2 separate regions of the Homo sapiens genome follow, and region 1 is linked to region 2. Evidence: promoter capture Hi-C in 16 types of primary human blood cells and fetal thymus (Javierre and others, 2016). All regions are on one chromosome and are shown on one strand. The core of a region is centred on a gene start or on the middle of the fragment in contact, and the rest is flanking DNA. Distances in the headings are between cores, read along the strand shown. Region 1 overlaps TMED10 (transmembrane p24 trafficking protein 10). Region 2 holds the start of FLVCR2 (FLVCR choline and putative heme transporter 2).

The links. The method cuts DNA at HindIII sites, captures the fragments that hold promoters and counts their contacts. A CHiCAGO score of 5 or more calls a contact.
Region 1: a contact is called between a fragment that was not itself captured here and the fragment with the promoter of FLVCR2 in region 2, in 1 of 17 cell types (activated CD4 T cells). The highest score is 6.8, in activated CD4 T cells.

Annotation. Positions count from the first base shown.
Region 1 is chr14:75,138,599-75,143,955 of GRCh38, forward strand. The region is part of intron 3 of TMED10 (transmembrane p24 trafficking protein 10); the gene reads right to left. Among named protein-coding and RNA genes, the nearest start is that of NEK9, 14 kb to the left of the region's middle. The HindIII fragment of the contact is 2,336 bases long and covers 2,581-4,916 here.
Region 2 is chr14:75,575,746-75,581,281 of GRCh38, forward strand. It overlaps FLVCR2 (FLVCR choline and putative heme transporter 2), which reads left to right and starts at 2,875. Exons shown (of 10, transcript NM_017791.3): 1 at 2,875-3,896. The coding sequence starts at 3,228. FLVCR2-AS1 (FLVCR2 antisense RNA 1) reads right to left here and starts at 3,843. Exons shown (of 3, transcript NR_110552.1): 1 at 2,032-3,843; 2 at 660-800. RefSeq lists an enhancer at 1,981-2,040 and a silencer at 2,751-2,820. The HindIII fragment of the contact is 6,290 bases long and covers 1-5,536 here.

The sequences.
Region 1 (5,357 bases), core at 2,499-4,998, 440 kb before region 2:
CTCCTGCTCTATACTTCCCCACTCAGAGCTTCCTAAATGAGACAGTATAAAGGAAATGGCATGATACTTCTTAGAGATAAATTATTTAAAGTTCCCTAAATAGAAACTTGCAAAAGAAACTGGAAGTGAAACTATGGCTGTGCCTCTGCCAGCTGAAAATGATATTAAAAAAAAAATTACTTTAAAGCCTACTGAATCCCACAGCCTTTGCTTCTTTTTTTTTTTTTTTTTTTTATTTTTGTTGTTGTTGTTGTTAAAGGACAATAGTCCAGAGACCTAAAACCCGAAAAACAATGATGGAATTAAACCTGGTACTGAAGATGGCTTTTGTAGATTACAGCCCCCCACAAGCTGTTCCCAATCCCTTTCCAGTAATAAAACTTATTTTTTAGTTGTACAACCAACACATAAATATATTCTTTGGCTAAAAATTTAAACTATCCAGAAGCAAAGAGAATATAAACCAAAAGTCTACCTTCATGGTTCCTCAATTCCCACATTGCTTTCCAGAGGTAAAGATGCTTATAAACTTGATGTATTATCTTTCCACACCTTTTCTTCTGAGACACTATGCTTTTGTATGTAAATGTACACAGAAAAATATAACTTAAAATCTATTTATAAATGGCATACTACACACATTGTTCTATAGCTTTTTTCCATTTAGTAAGATCTTTCCAAAAATGTCAGTGCTTATCAATTCATCTTATTCTTAACTGCTGCACAGCATTCCACACAGCTAGTATTCCACATTGTTTAGTTAATCATTCAATTCCCAACCCCTTTTCTAGTACAGGTGCTACTTCAGACTCTACACCTCTATTCATAACCAAACAGTCAAATTCCTATCTTCAAAGTTGATTTTATTTCCTCAACAAAATCTCTGCTGAGGCCAAGCGTGGTGGCTCACACCTGTTATCCCAATACTTCGAGAGGCTGAGGCAGGAGGATCACTTGAGCCTGGGAGGTCAAGGCTGCAGTGAGCCAAGATCATGCCACTATACTCCATCCTGGGAGACAAACTGAGACTCCGACTCAAAAAAAAAAAAAAAAAATCTATTGAATCCCATCTTTCATCCAGAAAATTATTTTCAGACCTTCATTAGTGGGATGAAGGTCTCATTTTGGTCTCATTTCCTAGAAGCCATTTTTGCCTAATAAGTACCTTCACTCATGATACTAATTTAAAATCTAGAAATCTTAAAGAAATCTCAAGAGACTAAAACAGTACTGAAATCTAGCTTGCCATTCCAAACACCTAGTACACCATGGATACTCAATAGTAAAAAACAACAATCATGGATATATTTCTATGTTGAATCTAAACCTAGAAATCCAAATAATATTTGGAGGAAATCAAAGAACAAAGATCTTTTCAAACCACCAAAATCTGACGGACTTAACAATTAAATGCTATTAAGGAAAGTAATTCCGCCTTCCTCCATGTGAGAACACAGTGAGGAGGCAGTATGCATTCAGAAGAGGACCCTCACCAGAACCTGACCACACTGGCACCCTGATCTTGAACTTCCTAGACTCCAGAACTATGAGAAATAAATTTCTGTTGTTTATTCTTTTTGAGATGGACTCTTGCTCTGTCACCCAGATTCTCCTGCCTCAGCCTCCCAAGTAGCTGGGATTACAGGCACGTGCCACCACGCCCAGCTAATTTTTGTATTTTTAGTAGAGACAGGGTTTCACCATGTTGGTCAGGCTGGTCTCGAACTTGTGACCTCATGATCCGCCCTCCTCGGCCTCCCAAAGTGCTGGGATTACAGGCGTGAGCCACTGGGCCTGGCCTGTTTATTTTTACAAAAGAAAAAAATTAGCCAGGTGTGGTGGCTCACGCCTGTAATCTCAGCACTTTGGGAGGCTGAAGCGGATGGATCACTTGAGACCAGGAGTTTGAGACCAGCCTGGCCAACATGGTGAAACCCAGTCTTTATTAAAATTACAAAAATTAGCTGGGCATGGTGGCGCATGCCTGTAGTCCCAGCTACTCAGGAGGCTGAGGCACGAGAATCCTTTGAACCTGGGAGGCAGAGGTTGCAGTGAGCTGAGATGGCACCGCTGCACTCCAGCCTGGGCTGGGTGGACTCTGTCTCAAAAAAATAAATAAATGAAGAAGTAGTAGTAGTAGTCAGTGGTTTAAAACAAAAAACAAAAAACCTTCACTGCAGGCAGGGCACAGTGGCTCATGCCAGTAATACCAGCACTTTGGGAAGCCAAGGCAGGTGGATTGCTGGAGACCAGGCTGGGCAACACAGCAAGACCCCATCTCTATTACAAAGTAGTAATAATAATAAAGAAAAAAAAACTTTATTGCAAGAATATATAACAATAGACTTTTATTACCAGCTTAAAACAAATATAAAAAAGTTTCTTGATTTTTTTTAAACATTTTAAGGCCTTAACGTTTTTTTCTGAGTTCTTATTATGTGCAAGGTACCAAGGTAAGTTATGATCTTAAGCTCTCACAGCTTATATAGTAAGTTATAACCATAATATATGGCTTTATGTAGTAACTTCTATAACAAAAAATACACATTAAAAACAGTTCTAGTTGGGAGGACAAAGTGAAGCTTAACAGGAAGTGGGTGAGCTGGGTCTCACAAGTTGGGCAGGACTTTTGAGAGGGCATTCAAGGCTGAGGGGAACCTGTAAACCAAAACACGGAGGGAGTAAAGTGCAGGCATGTTTAGCAACTACGAATAGTCTAGACATAAGTAGTCTGGTGTGCTAGAAACTAGACTATAGGGTATGTGTGCATGTACACACATAACTGCCACACACTTGTGCTTGGGGAGGGTAGGGGATAATAGCAAATAAAAGGCTCAAAAGTTAGGCTGAGACTAAATTAGGGAAGGGGATGAAAAAGGTAGTATAATGAATCAGAGCCATTCATATATGCTCACAATGTAGTATATTTTGTAATCTCATTTAATCCTCGTAACCCTATAAGGTGAATATTTTTATCCTTAAGTTTTGCAGATGAGGAAACTAAGGCTCTGAGGTATTAAATAATTTGCCCAAAGTATCACAGCTTGGTGCAGTTGGCATTAGAATCCAAGTCTATGTGAGTTTATTCTGTAAGTACTAGAAATTTAATAAAGAAAACCAGATGAGTATACTAAGTTTTTCCTGAATCAAAGGTGAAATGAACAAGCTATATTAGGCCACAAGGATCTATATAAGTTGTCCTGTTTGCTTGACTAATAAAGTTTGACTAATAAACTTCCTGGGTTTCCCATTGCTATTATTTTTGCAGGGCAACAGAGTAAAATTTTAAAACAAATCATGGTAAGTATTCTCAAGAAGACGCTCTTTACTTGCTCTGGACTAAGCATTCAATACATAGCATTGAGGCTTTATATCACAGTACAAAAAGCTAAAAAATCCTCAATATCAAAATTCCCACTTTCTGTTGTTCTGCTCTTGTAAGCAGTTGATTGAACTGTTCAGAGTATCTGTAAAAATGCCAAATTATACATGTTTCATGAAGGCAGGCTGGTATTCTATTCTACTCTCCTTCATCACTGGAAGCATGAGGTATGTTTTGCCAAGTCTGTAAGACAATGTGCACCACAGGTTCTCCAATAGGGGGTGATATCCCCCTGGCAAGCTGCATGTAGTTGTTAAATAATCAAAGGATGTTATAGTTACAAGGTGCTTCATTTTGCAGTGAGTCCCTCATTTTTCAAATGAGGAAACTAAAGATTCCATAAAGTTACTCAGCCCTTTGGGTGTCCAACCAAAATTAACAGTACCATGGTCTCTTAACTCCCTACCCAGGGTGATCACAGCATTTAAACTGCCAAACTCTGCTGTAAAATTCGAGAACAGAATCCCTGACTTCCAAAAGCATTTATGCTCTCTGTACCCAAATCTGACCTATCTTTCAAGCCTCCTTGAAAGCCTCCTTCAACCACTCTTGTCCACACTGTCTTCCCTGAAGCCCTACAACACATACTGTGTCACACAGTTAACACTCAATCATATATTGTCATATTCACAAATTGTTTTATTTTTATCCTGTCCCTCCACACTAGTTTGGCTCCTGAACTCAAGGAAATTAAAATGATTTATAGTTTATATAGTCGTAAAGACCTGAGACTTGGTAAACACTTGTAATTGACCTGTTCTGCCCACTCTATGCCTTCTTCAAAGAAGCCAACTTTCTCAAAGTAGCTAAGTGCTGCTGGTCCCCTGAAGCAAGTGTTTCTTGTATACTAAAAGCACTCTGCATTGATTTTTTTTCTTTCTTTTTTTTATTTTTTTGAGATAGAGTTTTGCTTTGTCACCCATGCTGGAGTGCAGTGGCACGATCTTGGCTCACTGCAACCTCTGCCTCCCAGGTTCAAATGATTCTCCTGCCTCAGCTTCCCGAGTAGCTGGGATTACAGGCGCCTGCCACCACACCCAGCTAATTTTTGTATTTTTAGTAGAGACAGGGTTTCACCATGTTGGCCAAGTTGGTCTTGAACTCCTGACCTCAGGTGATCCACCTGCCTCAGCCTTCCAAAGTGCTGGGATTACAGGTGTGAGCCACCGCGCCCAGCCTGCATCTATTTTCATGAGGCCCGCCGCCTAGGAGAAAGCCTTCTCTACCACCATATCTATTAACATCATTCTTACTGGTCATGGTAGGTACTGTTTGGAAAAGCTACAAGTTACAAAGCCTTTTTCTGTATAACACCTCCAAAATACCAGTAAAATTAAACTCTTCTAAAACCATATCCAAATCTTCCATTATAATGAAGATTTGAATCTAAAGAGTTCACAGAGTTATATGTAACTGTACCAAGAAAAGGTATTAATTCTCTGAAAAAACTGCTTCTTAAAACAGAGGTGTTAATCTAACCTCTAGGGAATCTCTAAATTCTTTTCCTTGGTGGAGCATCAAGATCCAAGAGAGAAGCTTCTTGTGACAAGACAAATTCAGTCAAAGTAGTTTGCTGCCTCCATGCCTCCCACCACAGCCCCCACCAACTCCAGGAGCACAGCAATAAATGTGAAGACCATCTAGTCTAACACAAGCAAGATAAACATAACAGAGCTGGCACAGTGGCTCATGCCTGTAATCCCAGCACTTTGGGAGGCCGAGGTGGCCAGATCACTTGAGGTCAGGAGTTGGAGACCAGCCTGGCCTACATGGTGAAACCCTGTCTCTACTAAAAATACAAAAATTAGCTGGGTGTGGTGGTGCACACTTGTAATCCCAGCTACTCGGGAGGCTGAGGCAGAATAATTGTTTGAACCCGGGAGGCAGAGGTTGCAGTGAGCTAAGATCACGCCACTGCACTACAGCCTGAATAACTGAGTGATACTCTGTCTCAAAAAAAAAAAAAAAAAGGACT
Region 2 (5,536 bases), core at 1,625-4,124:
CCTACCCCCCACATTAGGAATCAGCCAAGAGTCATCCCTACCCTGGTGGCTCCCAGAATATGATCATTATTATTGAAAACAGTTTATGCATATTAGCTTGTTTAATTCTCACAGCAATTCTATGAGGCAGGTTTTTGTTTGTTTTGTTTTTTTGTTTTTGAGACAGAGTCTCGCTCTGTCTCTCAGGCTGGAATGCAGTAGTGCCATCTCAGCTCACTGCAGCCTCTGCCTCCCAGGTTCAAGTGATTCTCCTGCCTCAGCCTCCCAAGTAGCTGAGATTACAGGCATGTGCCACCACACCTGGCTAATTTTTGTATTTTTAGTAGAGACGGGGTTTCACCATGTTGGCCAGGGTGGTCTTGAACTCCTGACCTCAAGTGATCCACCCATCTCGGCATCCCGAAGTGCTGAGATTACAAGTGTGAGCCACCGTGCCAGGCTGGAGGCAGGTATTTTTAATCCTTATTTGATAGATTCAGAAACTGAAGAATAGAGAGGTCAAGTGACTTGCTCAAGATACCAAAGCTAAGAATGACAAAACAGAGCTTCAAGTCTAAGCAGACCCAACCCAGATCTCACAACAGATCCAGCTCGTTCCACCACAAAAGCAATTCCAAATCTCACTTGAATCCCAGGTTAGACCCCTTGGAATCTCTCACCAAGCTGAAGGGCTGCCCCAGAAGAGCTCATGGGAAAGGCCACGTGGAAGGAGCACCCATTTTATTGCTGCTTGTTCTGATGCTATTTCACTATAGGACGCTGAGTAACACACCCGCCTCTCCAGGCCTCAGTTTCCTTATCTGTAAAATGAAGTTAAGAATATATTATGAAGAGTTTTGGAAGAGGCCCATGATGACCGAGGGAAAAGAAGCAGTGAGAGGTCTCAGAAGGCCTTCTAAAAGAACAGAGTTCTGTGCTCCCTGGAGAATGATGGGAAACACAGGAGGAATAGTGACAATACGAGATGTTAAATTACTGTAGAAATTCTTAGATCTGAGTCTGAACTCCCTCTCCAAATATTCCATTATAATCCAAGACTCTATAGTTTCTACCAAAAAGTAGGTGCCTTCAAGCAGGGAGTGATCATTTGAATCTAGTTCTCTCCTGGGAATCAGTGGTTCTAACTTGGCTGCACGTTTGGATGACCAGCGGAGCTTGTGACATGCAGATGTTCAGGTCCACCCTCGGAGATCGCTAAATGGGGTGTTGCCCGAACACTTGGGATATTAAGAGTTTCTTCATATGATTCTAATGTGCAGACAAAATGGAGAGCCACTTCCCAGAGCTTCAAGTTATTCATTTTCTGGTCTGAAGTTTAACAAAGAAAAAAAAAATAAAGAAGCAGTGATGCCCAGTAGCTCTCAAAATTTAATGTGTAAACAAATGAATCTCCTGGGCATCTTGTTAAAATGCAGCTTTCAATTCAGTGGGTCTAGGTTGGGCCTGACAACCTTCTTGGTTGTTTTGTGGTTGCCGTTTTGTTTTTTAAGGCCTTAACACTGGAGGGGATTCTGGCCTTCTAAAAAGCTCCCACAGGTGCCCACGCTGCTAACCACAGACTGTGCTTGAATAGCTAGGCTACAGCTTGAATGATTACAGACTTGAACGAGAATTATGGCTCTTCTTGCCAGCTGGGACCTTCAGAAAGAAGTTACTTCACTTCTCTGAGTCTGGGTTTTCTTGTCTATAAAATTTAGGCCAGCAATAGTAACTTTATCACAGAATTCTTGTGATGCATAAATGAGCTAATGCATTCAATTTGTTTAGCACTGTACAACAAATGTTAGCTTTTTGCTAGGATAGCCAGCATTCGCGGAATGCTTACTATGTGGCAGGAATTTTCTAAGTGCATTCGTGTATTAATTCATTCAAGTCTCAGAACAACACGGTGAGGTAGGTACTATTATTTCATCATTTCCATTTTACAGATGAAGAAACTGAAGCGCAGAGAGGTGGAGTTCCTTGGTCTACAGTGGCACCTCATTGTAGCTAAGCTGGTGTTTGAACTCAGGGAGAATTTGGGCTCCTTACCAGGATCCCTCGCCAAGGACAGAGGTCAGTGCAACGAGTCGAGGGTTTGCCCTTTGAAATGGGCTAGGACCGGCAGGTGGCAGACTAGGGCTGCTTGAGTTCAAAGACCGCTTCCAAGACCAAGCCCGGAGCCAGCTCTGTGCTAAGCGTTCCATCACACAACCGCGGACAGCTTCTTCGGCTTCTTCAAACTCTCCTTTCCCTCCCCCGCACCCTAGGGTCTTCGCCCAGAATCCATCAGGAAAAATAGCCCCACATAACAGGTTCAAATCTAACCTCCCCAAGACAAAACCACGTCCGCAGGGAAAGAAGCGAGTAAAGCGAGTTTTCTGTAACTCCCCTTTAACCCAGGAGCGCAACCAGCCCGGGAAATCTACAAATCTCTCTTTAGTTCAGCAAAGGGCTGGGAGCCTAAGCCAAGGGGGAGAAAGTTGGGGAATCCCTCTTGAATTCCCCAGAACACTTAGGTGGCGCCGGGCTTTGGTGCACGCGCGCAGGGCATGCGGACAGGCACCGGAGAGGCTCTATTTTGGGCATTACTTCGGGAAGGCGGATCTTCTTGCAGGGTCCGCTGATAGCGGGTGGCAAATGAATATGAGGGGCAGTGCAAAGGGTGGGGGTTAACCGGGCGGTTTCCATGGCGCCCGGGGCGTGGGGGAGGAATGCATCCCGCAAGCTGTGGCGAAACAACTGCTCTGCCCGGAGGACCGGGCTCGAGAAGGCAAGAGACACTGGGTCGGGGGTGGAGTGGTGGCGGGGGGGTTGGGGGCGGAAGAAGCCAGGCAGGACGGGGGCGGGGCGGTCACGTGTGCCCGACTGGGCGAGGCCCCAAGCTGGCCCGGGAGAGGACTCTGCGGGCGAAGTGGCTGCGCAAGGAGAGAACTTTTCCTGCACAAGGAACGCCTCGTGGGGAGACCCAAGGCAGGAGCGGTCCGGAGCCGGCTGCGGCGTGTGCGGCCGGCCTTGGGACAGCGATCGCCGCGGGTGGCAACAGAGAGCCCCAAGCAAAAGTGGGAGCAGGAGCTTGGAGGTGAGCACAGGAAGCCCCACTTGAGGCTTTTACGCAGCCTCTAGTCTCTGTTTCTTCTGGAATAGGCAAGTGTCCTTTCAACTCTAAGAGACCAGCAGAGGCCACTGTCCCTTAAGACTGCCGGAGTCCTCACCACTTCTCCAGGATTCCAGAGGAGACTGTGGCGATGGTGAATGAAGGTCCCAACCAGGAAGAGAGCGATGACACCCCTGTGCCGGAGTCCGCACTCCAAGCGGACCCCAGCGTCTCGGTCCATCCCAGCGTCTCGGTCCATCCCAGCGTCTCCATCAACCCCAGCGTCTCTGTCCACCCCAGCAGTTCGGCCCACCCCAGTGCCTTAGCCCAACCCAGTGGCTTGGCTCACCCCAGTAGCTCGGGCCCTGAGGACCTCAGCGTGATCAAGGTGAGCAGGCGCCGTTGGGCCGTGGTCCTGGTGTTTAGCTGCTACTCCATGTGCAACTCCTTTCAGTGGATCCAGTACGGCTCCATCAATAACATCTTCATGCACTTCTACGGTGTCAGTGCCTTTGCCATTGACTGGCTGTCCATGTGCTACATGCTGACTTACATCCCTCTGCTCCTGCCAGTGGCTTGGCTGCTGGAGAAGTTCGGCCTGCGCACCATTGCTCTCACTGGCTCGGCTCTCAACTGCCTGGGGGCCTGGGTGAAGCTGGGCAGCCTGAAGCCGCATCTCTTTCCGGTCACCGTGGTGGGCCAGCTCATCTGCTCTGTGGCCCAGGTTTTCATCCTGGGCATGCCCTCCCGCATCGCTTCCGTCTGGTTCGGGGCTAATGAGGTTTCAACAGCCTGCTCCGTGGCTGTCTTTGGCAATCAGGTAGGTAGAACAGTTTGTGAATGTTCCCAGGGGCGTGTGTTAGATTGCACCTAACTATTGGGTGTGGTAGGCTATAATTTGCTGATTGTCCAACAGTGTTTGTGACTCTGGGTGACAGTAACTGGGTGTGACAGGCAGTGATTGTGATGCTGTAAGAGAGGCGGGAAACAAAAGCAGGGGGACCTGCTCTTTCATCCACAGTTGCTCTTGCCCCAGCCAAAAGCATGCTTCTAGAACATACTATACCTTCGCTGTGTCGTTCTCGAACCTGTGTCAGTCCACCAACTTAGACCTGTAATTTCAGGAATGCTCTTCTGTCTGGCAGCAGCCCCTGGGCATCAGACTATTCTGGTGTCATCAGAACTTGGCAGTGCTTTCAGTTGGACCAACCAGCTTTCCTAGAGTGCAGTATCTCCTCTACTGCATAGAATTGCAAAGCCATGCCTGGTGGTGTTTGGCACTGCTTTTACCTTGTTTTACACACAGCTGAAGCCAGGACAGTGGGAGCAGTGCTTTGTGCCAAACTCCTTGCCTGGGATTTAGAGCCAAGTCCAGCAGGATGGAGTAGAAATCTCACTCTGAGTTTCCATGGCCTAGAAAGGGTAGTTCATGTCTTAATCTTTTTCTCTTTCTTTCTTATTGGAAGGAGAAGCTCAAATTCTTTGCATCTCAATGTGGTTATGATCCAGAAAGCTGGGCAGGTTGTGAACCTGAATGCCGTCTCCAAATACTCGAAGCAAATATTTATGGGAATATTTAAAGCAAACGTCCTTTAGCCAGACCACTGCCTCCCAGTCTCGCATCTTTCCAAGCACGTACAGTCCTGGCTGTGTGTTTAACAAAGGATTGGTAATCCTGTCTCACACGTCCATGTGAAGAGACCACCAAACAGGCTTTGTGTGAGCAACAAGGCTGTTTATTTCACCTGGGTGTAAGCAGGCTGAGTCTGAAAAAGGAGTCAGCAAAGGGTGGTGGATTATCATCAGTTCTTATAGGTTTTGGGATAGGTGGTGGAGTTAGGAGCAATGTTTTTCAGACAGGGTGGATCTCAAAGTACATTCTCAAGGGTGGGGAGAATTACAAAGAGCCTTCTTAAGGGTGGGGGAAATTACAAAGTACATTGATCAATTAGGGTGGGGCGAAACAAATCACAATGGTGGAATGAAATCAGTTAAGGCTATTTTCACTTTTTTTGTGGATCTTCAGTTGCTTCAGGCAATCTGGATTGCCTGAAGCATGCAGGTCACAGGGGATAGGATGGCTTAGCTTGGGCTCAGAGGCCTGACATTCCTGTCTTCTTATATTAATAAGAAAAGCAAAACAAAATAGTGAAGTGTTGGAGCAGCGAAAAATTTTGGGGGTGGTATGGAGAGATAATGGGAGATGTTTCTCAGGACTGCTTCGAGCGGGATTAGGGGCAGCGTGGGAACCTACAGTGGGAGAGACTCAGCTGAAGAACGGTTTTGGGGTAAGGGGTGATACTGTGGGGTTGTTAGAAGAAACATTGGTCGTATAGAATGATTGGTGATGGCCTGGATGCGGTTTTGTATGAATTGAGAAACTAAACGGAAGACACAAGGTCTGAAAAAGAGAAGGAGAAAAACAGGTATTAAAGGACTAAGAATTGGGAGGACCTAGGA